3 separate regions of the Homo sapiens genome follow, and regions 1 and 2 are each linked to region 3. The links are contacts of gene promoters, found by promoter capture Hi-C in blood cells and fetal thymus (Javierre and others, 2016). All regions are on one chromosome and are shown on one strand. The core of a region is centred on a gene start or on the middle of the fragment in contact, and the rest is flanking DNA. Distances in the headings are between cores, read along the strand shown. Region 1 has its middle 180 kb from the start of EPS8. Region 2 overlaps PTPRO (protein tyrosine phosphatase receptor type O). Region 3 holds the start of STRAP (serine/threonine kinase receptor associated protein).

Region 1 (2,700 bases), core at 195-2,694, 270 kb after region 3:
AATTAGTTCAGCCACTGTGGAAAGCAGTTTGGAGATTTCTCAAAAAAACAGAACTATTATTTGATCTAGCAATTCCATTACTGGGTATACATCCAAAAGAAAACAAATCGGCTGGGCACAGTGGCTCATGCCTATAATCCCAGCACTTTGGGAGGCCTGAGGTTGGGCATTCGAGACCAGCCTGACCAAAATGAAGAAACCCCATCTCTACTAAAAATACAAAATTAGCTGGGCATGGTGGTGCATGCCTGTAATCCCAGCTACTCAGGAGGCTGAGAATCGCTTGAACCCAGGAGGCAGAGTTTGTGGTGAGCCGAGATCGTGCCATTGCATTCCAGCCTGGGCAATAAGAGCAGAAAACAAATCATTCTACCAAAAAGACATACACCTTCATGTCCATATAGCACTATTCACTACAGCAAAGACATGGAATCAACTTCAGTGCCCACCAACAATAGATTGCATAAAGAAATTGTGGAAAATATACACCATGGAATACTACCCAGCCATAAAAAGACTGAAATCATGTTCTTTGCAGCAGAATGGATGGCACTGGAGGCCATTATCCTAAGTGAATTAATGCAGAAATGGAAAAACAAATACTACATGTTCTCACTTATAAGTTGGAGCTAAACACTGGGTACTCATGGACATAAAGATGGGAAGAGTAGACACTGGGGACTCCAAAAGGGGGGAGGGACAGAGGTCGAGGCAAGGGTGAAAAAGCTACTTATGGGGTACTTTGTTACCTATGGGGTACTATCTGGGTGATGGGTGTGTTCACACCCCAAACCTCAACATCACGTGATATACCTTTGTAACAAATCTGTACATGTACCCCCAAATCTAAAATAAAAGTTGAAAAACAAAAGACAGACATGTAGACCAATGAAATAGAATAGAGTCCAGAAATAAACCGTTGCCTGTATGGTCAAATGAGTTTTCACAGGGGTGCCAAGACCAGTCAATAGGGGAGAAAACAGTCTTTTCAACAAACAGTGCTGGAAATACTAGGTATTCACATACAAAAGAATGAAGTTGGGGCCTTTAACTTGAATGGATCCGTGACCTAAATGTGAGACCTAAAACTATGAAACTCTTAGAAGAAAACATAGGGCAAAAGCTTTACAACATTGAATTTGGCAATTGTTTCTTGGATATTATACCAAAAACAGAGAAAGTATAAGGAAAAAATAGAAAACTGGAGTTCATTAATTTTTTTTTTTAGTTGTGCATGAAAATACACTATCAACAGAGCAAAAATGGCGGCCCACGTATTTGGAGAAAATGTTTCCAAGTTGTATGTCTGTTAAGGGACTAATATCCACAGTTACTGTTTAATGGGTATAGAGTTTCCATTTAACAAGATGAAAAGTGTTTTGGAGAAGAACAGCAGTGATATGATTGCATAGCATTATGAATGTATTTAATACCACTGAATCATACACATAAACATGTTAAAGATGGTGAATTTTGTGTATATTTTACCATAATAGAAAATTGAAAAAAAAATCTGTCTTAATATCCTTGTTTATTCTATCATCTTTGTAGCTTCTAGCTTGATTTTAATTGATTTTGTTGCCTTCACTAGAGGTCTCATTTCTCTGTATGGCATATAATTTTTAATTTGATGTCAGACATTGGGAATTTTATCTTATATGTTGCATACTTTTATTTTTATAAAATATTATTGAGCTTTGTTTTGGGATACTATTAAGTTACTTGGAAATAGTTTGATCCTTTCTGATCTTGCTTTTAAGCTTTGTCAGGTTAAACCAAAGCAGTATTTATACAAGGGCTAATTTTATCCCACCATTAAGCAAATCCCTTCTGAATATTCCACCTATTGTTCCACGAATTATAATGTCTTTCACTTTGGCTGGTGGGAATGAGAACTATTTCTGATCCTGTGTCAGCTCTGGAAATTGTTCCTTCCAATTCTTTCAGGTGGTTCTTTTCTCAGCCTTGGGCGGTTTTCTCCTATGTATGCCCTTATCAATACTAACTTGAAGAATCTATGGGGACCCTGTGAAGATCTGTGGAGCTCTCTCTTTGTATAGTTCTCTCCTCTCCGCCACTCTGTCCTGTGAACTTTAGTTCCCTTGTCCTTCTCACACTATCAACTTGTCTTCTCAACTGAAGGGATCTGGAGTCCTCATGGTCTCCCTGCACTATAGCTTAGAAACAATCTTTTTGTTTTGTGTGTATTTTTTCTTTTTTTTTTTTAGAGTCAGGGTCTCACTAGTCTTAAACACCTGGCTTCAAGCGATCCTCCTGCCTTGACCTCCCAAAGTGTTAGGATTACAGGCGTGAGCCACTGCACCCAGCCAGAAACAATCTTTAGGCAGAAAGCTGGAACAATTGTAGGATTTCCTCATGCATTTATCTTTCTGTGATGACTGGCATTCATTGCCTAGTGTTCAATATCTTGAAAACCGCCCTTTCATATATTTTGTTTTTTTCAATTGTTTCAGAGTGGAGGGTAAATCTAGTCCATCTGACTCCACCTTGGCCAAAAGTGGGAGCAGTTTCACCTTGCTTTTTAAAGCATATTTTCACTGTATACAAAATTCTAGGTTACCATTTTTAACTCTAGCACTTTAAAAATGCCATTTCATTGATTTTTGGCTTTCATCGTTCCTGATGACATGGCAGCCATCATTCATGCTTTTCCCTTTGGCTTTTTTCAAGGTTCTTTTT
Region 2 (2,895 bases), core at 22-2,521, 310 kb after region 3:
TTTGGAAACCATGGAAACAAAAGGCTGTGGTGCTCAAGGGTTGTTGTTGGCTGCTTTTCACTATGAAAAAGAGGTTGGGCTGGGCATCGTGGCTCACGGCTGTAATCCCAGCACTTTGGGAGGCTGAGGCAGCTAGATCACAAGGTAAGGAGTTCGAGACCAGACTAGTCAATATGGTGAAACCCTGTCTCTACTAAAAATACAAAAGTTAGCCGGGCATGGTGGTGGGCAACTGTAGTCCCAGCTACTCAGGAGGCTGAGGCAGGAGAATCACTTGAACCTGGGAGGCGGAGGTTGCAGTGAGCCAAGATCGCGCCACTGCTCTCTAGCCTGGGCAACAGAGTGAGACTGTCTCAAAAAACAAAACAAAACAAAACAAAAGTGACAGAAAAAGAGGTTGTTTGTTGTTTCACTGAACACAAACATCTGCCCTCTCTGGCTGCGTTTCTCTTTGTTTCTCTTTGTTCAGTGAAACAAAGTGAAACCAAAACAGAGAGAGAAGCAGAAATGAGAAATAGAGGGGCCCCTGGCTCCAGTCATCCCTGAAACTGTGCTGCTTCCCTGCACGTAGTCTAGCTACTCAACCTTTTCTTTGATTGTATGAGATACCTTAGTATCCTTTGAATAAACCCCCTTTCCTTTAGTTTAAACAAGTTTGAGCTATGTTTTTGTCACTCACAACTAAAAGAATATGTTTACTGGAAAATGACTTGTTGAATTTTTTTTCATGCAATTCAGAAACAGTAATAGTTATGCTTGGGTTTCAAGACATAAACTGTGAGTTGCCAGCAGAGGTTATGATCCAGCTGTGCCACCAAGGGCATGCCATCTTGAAGGAATTAAGAAAATGTGGCTTTAATAAGGTAAAAGTGTAGCTATACCATAATTTCTATCATCGTTAGAATCATCTAGCTATTTATTTTTTCAGAGTTTTGCCTCATGTTTGCTTAGAAAAAAAGTCCTCCTTTCCTTGATATACTTTCTGAAATGCCATCCTCCTCATTCATTTCCAATTCAAATTGAATTTCTTTGAGTATAGCATTTGGTGTAGCATCTATAATATCCTATGCACCTGGATACAATGGATAAGTGAGCAGGCTCTGTGTGGAATTTTTCAGGACACAGGTGGTAGTTAGCGGTCTTTGTATTTGGTAATGTATAAGATTCTTCTCATCCTCAAATTCCCCATTAGTGTCTCCACACCAGGACCACTGATGCTTTTTGCAGACTAAAGCTGTCCTTGGCTGAGAAGTGGAAAGGAGAAATGATTTTAAAAACTGAAGAAAAAGCAGCTACCTTAATAGAAAAGAGCACTTAAAAGGCTTTATAAAAAAAAAAAACTACAGAATTTAGAAAAATCACTTTATCTTCCCCTTTTCCCTGAATCACTGACCACTCAAGCCATGCTATAGAAACCTGAAGGATGGGGGGCCATTTAGACTGTGTTATGAGCTATAAAATATGTAGAAAGAAAAAGTGAGAACTAATTATCTTCCCCCACACTGCTGAGATATTAGACTCACTCACTTCCATCTCTTCTGACATATGGTTTTAGATCCAAAGAAATATGTGTCCTTCGGAAAAAAAGAGATGTTGTCAATTTTTTTCTTAACACAAATCATGTGTAACTTTATCTCCCCAATTTGTCCAAGGAAAGAAAATAAAACTGCACAAAAGTTATTAAGTAGAATGCCAGGAGTCCTATAGCTTGAAAAGCCCTACTCCAGGATGTTATGTGCCCAGGACACAAAGGGGGTCAGTTTTATCCACTATCCGCCACTACTGTGGCCTAAGAAGCATGAGAAACACTACAAATCCCCTGAAAGGGAAATTCTGTCTCAGGCTTCATGCCTCAGCTTGCATTTTTCTTCTTGTACTCTCGATTTCCCTGGTTTTCAATGATGGCTTCTACTATACCCATGTTTGCTCACCTCAGTACCTGCACCTATTCTCTTCTTCCCCTCATCTCATTTGTGCCACCTGAGGCCTTGCCTACTAAGCAAGGATTGACAACCCTTGCTCTAAACCAGCAGATCAGCAATCCCCAGGCCAATACCCTTTTTGTTACGCACTGCCAGTGAGCAGGGACATGACCGCAACACAAACCCCCCAATTCCCAGGCCCTTTCCATTACAGAAGGTAGAAAATGCCTTAACCAACTCACCTCAAACTGAAGAGAAAATTTATAGTCAGAGTCTTTGGCCATATCCTTAATATAGGCATCAAAGTCATCCAGTTGAACCGGGCTTTGCCAAACACAAAGAAATATACATACATTTTAAAATTCTTGTTGATAGGTATTATATATTGTTTAATATCATACTTCTTAATCTTCTTGGAGAAAATAGAAGTTTTACTTCTCTAAGGTTAGCACTCACCTTTTTTTTTTGGTTCAAGTTACCAATCCTTAATATATTGCAATTGAAAAGAAGGGCATATATATCCAGCTTCCTTGATAGGAGAAATCTCTAGATTTCCACTTGGCTCTTACTGTAGCAGTACAGTAGTATATATATGCATACTCGTATACACACACCCCCATCTGTGTTGCTTCTAAAAAACTCTGGCATATGGAAAATAACAAAGGAATGGATTCCAAAGACCTGTTTGAGTTATGGTTTTGCTTTATTGACTGTGTTATCCTAGAGAATCGCCTAACTCTTCAGAGTCAATGTTCTCATCCATAAAATACAGTAGTTACAGCTACAGGGTTGACATACAGTACATAAAGAACTTTGTAAGTTTCAACAGCTTTACAAGTATAAGGAATTGTGCTGCTAGCTACAGTCTCCCCAAAGCAGAGGCAGGATCAGTGGGATGAAACTTTTGTCCAGAAAGCTCCCAGGGTCTCACTGGAGTGAGTTATCTTTAGAGGCTTGCATATCTATAAAAGTA
Region 3 (2,700 bases), core at 36-2,535:
GAAATCTGCAGCTGCTGTAGCTGCTTTGGTGGCATCCTTATTCAGTGTTGCACCCCAAACAGCACCTTTATGACCCAAAAATGTTCCAATCCAGTCTCCTGTATCTCCCTGGCGTAGCATAGGTTTACCATCTAGAAAATATTTTTTAAAACATGTAATTTATAAGTTCAGATTACTTAAAGTCTAAGATTCAAATGTAAATATACAATGATGTTCAATGACAAAGTGGAAAAATTGTTTCAGCTATTTAACTACCACCACCCACTGAAGGCACTAAGGAATGTGCAGTAATAAATTAACTGAAGAGCTGAACAGATCATTCTCTCTGAAAAGCATCTGTAATTGGCTGGGAATACTGATCTGCGTCAAAACAATCTAGATTTTAGTCTTATTTTGGACAGACATCTTAGCCTGAATCTCAGTTTCCCATTTGAAAAATGAGGCTAATACCACAAAGGAATATCCAGTGAGACAAGAGCGAACGTCTTTGTAAGGTATTGCACGGCCTGGCCTAATTTCTCCTTTCCCCAAATCCTTGAAAGCTATTTACCGTGTTGTCCCGAGAGTCTAGGCAAATGCTGACCAGCTCCTTCAAAAATAGCAATAAAAATAAAATAAGGAGAGAGGTCTTAGTTGGAGGTAATAGTTTCTACAAAAGCGTCCTCTCGGCTCCAGCTGCGGATTCCCTAACACACTCCTTTCTCCACCGGACCAGTGTTGGCTCTCATCTCAGATGTTAATATCGCCCCCTCCCCCCTCACCACACCACCGCTTCGGCACTGGAGCGTGCGGGTCCCGATCCCTTTCAGCCCAGTCCCAGCCGTCGAGGACCAGGATTGCGGCCTTGCTCACCTTTGCAAGCGCTGATTAAGAAATACCCATAAGGCGTGATGCCACTGAAGGCCAAATCAACCACGGGTCGCGTGTGGCCAGAGCAGGTGAGCGGCGTCTGTCTCATTGCCATGGCGGCGGCGAAGCCAGCGACCGGACTGGCGAGCTGAGGGTCGTCGTTGTCTTTTCTCTCTTCTGCTGCAGTGCCTCGGGCTGCTCCAGGCCCCCGCCCTGACACTAGGGCTGGGCTGGGCAACAGGAAAAGAAGGGCAATCCGGTGGCACCGAGGTTAGGGAGGGGTGAGGGAGGGGTCAGGGAGTCTGCGACCAGCAAGCAACAGTCGACGAGGGAGGGAAAGGGAGGGAGGGAGGAAAGTAGGGGATGGGGAGAAGCGGAGAACCGGGCCAGCCACGATTCACAGCGTCCACACCGGCATCGGCAGGAAGTGACGACGTAAATGACGCAGAGCACCCGCCGGAAATGACGATTGGCGGGAGGGCGGGCTCGCCGGGTAGAAGTGACTTGAAGAAAGAGCGAGAAGTATAGAAGGGCGCAGGCGCTAGTTCAGTGCTCGTGAGGTAACTGGCGCTGGCCCACGCCGACTAAGGGAGACGCTCTAGGCACCGGGATGGGGTCCCTGTCCCCGAGCTCTAGCGGGTCAGAACGCCTTCCTGGTCCGCGGCCGAGTTGAAAGTTGTTCCCACTCCCATAAGTCCAAGGACCAGCGTCAGCTGTGTACCTGCCGAGCAGCCCTACTGAGGACTGTGCTCGGCCTCTGAATATCTAGACGGACACGAGCCATACCCAGTGACGGCCCAAACCAGCGAACGCTGTCTGGCAACGTTTTTTGCAATTTGTCTTATTTAAAAACCATATACGGGCTTGGAGTGGTGGTGCCTGTGGTCCCACCTACTTGGAAGGCTGAGGTGGGAGGATAACTCGAGCCCGAGAGGTCGACACCGCAGTAAGCGGTGCTCGCGCCACCGCACTCCAGCCTGGGCAACAGAGCGAGACCATGTATTAAAAAAAAAAAAAAAATCCCCAGTCATTTCTTCCGCTGTGTAAGTTTTCCTATGTTGCTAATGTTTTAGGAGTGGATACTATATAGTTTTAAATGCGATTAAATTCAAGTTACTTTTTCCTTGGTGGACTTCGGAGAACTCTAGAGTCGTAGATCCCCAATTTTTTTGATGAAATACTCTCATCCGTAAAGTGAGCCTTCACTCATTTTATAAGCGAATGAATGCTGAATTCTATCAAAAACTTTTACACCTTTTGATATGATGTATATATGAGTGATGATTTGCAAATTACATAGATGTGCATTATAATACATGGACAAAAATAGAAATATTAAAATAATATTTAAATATAAACAAACTCTGATATTGTCTGCAGCAGGCAGCCCACTGTGGCTCTGTGAAACCACCAGAGCTGTTAATTGTTGATACTGTTTCCTAACCAGGAGAGGGCTTTTCTCTGGGCAAGTTGTATCTTTATTGATAGAATGTAAACCCAATACAACAGAGATTTTTGTGTTTTCTTTGCTACTTTATCCCCAAGGTCAAAACGTCTGGGCACATAGCAATAAATATGTAATCAACATAAATGTCTGTGAATGTTTTCTTCATCTTTTTGCAGCAAACACCGTCTACAAGATTCGAGTCAAACAACGTGAGAACTTGAAATACGTCTCCATTCTTTTTCCTTAGTACTCTCGTTCATTCACTTACGGTAAAGCACTTACTATATATGTTTTTCATTTTATCTTGTTCGACTCCTCCTTTGTGCCATCCTCTCCCTTTTGTCTCACACATACGCACCACTCACACATTTATGAACTCCTTAATGGCAATGGTTATGGCTTTG

Evidence for each region. The method cuts DNA at HindIII sites, captures the fragments that hold promoters and counts their contacts. A CHiCAGO score of 5 or more calls a contact.
Region 1: a contact is called between a fragment that was not itself captured here and the fragment with the promoter of STRAP in region 3, in 5 of 17 cell types (M0 macrophages, M2 macrophages, M1 macrophages and 2 more). The highest score is 8.3, in M0 macrophages.
Region 2: a fragment that was not itself captured here is called in contact with the fragment with the promoter of STRAP in region 3 in 14 of 17 cell types (monocytes, M2 macrophages, M1 macrophages and 11 more); the score reaches 14.1 in monocytes.

What each region holds. Positions count from the first base shown.
Region 1 is chr12:15,609,184-15,611,883 of GRCh38, reverse strand. No RefSeq gene overlaps it. Among named protein-coding and RNA genes, the nearest start is that of EPS8, 180 kb to the left of the region's middle. The HindIII fragment of the contact is 637 bases long and covers 1,126-1,762 here.
Region 2 is chr12:15,568,768-15,571,662 of GRCh38, reverse strand. PTPRO (protein tyrosine phosphatase receptor type O) reads right to left here. Exons shown (of 27, transcript NM_030667.3): 19 at 2,165-2,246. Among named protein-coding and RNA genes, the nearest start is that of EPS8, 220 kb to the left of the region's middle. RefSeq lists an enhancer at 433-622. The HindIII fragment of the contact is 5,261 bases long and covers 1-2,895 here.
Region 3 is chr12:15,880,972-15,883,671 of GRCh38, reverse strand. STRAP (serine/threonine kinase receptor associated protein) reads right to left here and starts at 1,285. Exons shown (of 10, transcript NM_007178.4): 1 at 853-1,285; 2 at 1-131. The coding sequence starts at 964. It overlaps LOC102724146 (a long non-coding RNA gene), which reads left to right and starts at 1,374. Exons shown (of 6, transcript XR_007063230.1): 1 at 1,374-1,892; 2 at 2,473-2,565. RefSeq lists enhancers at 1,208-1,327, 1,638-1,867. The HindIII fragment of the contact is 32,342 bases long and covers 1-2,700 here.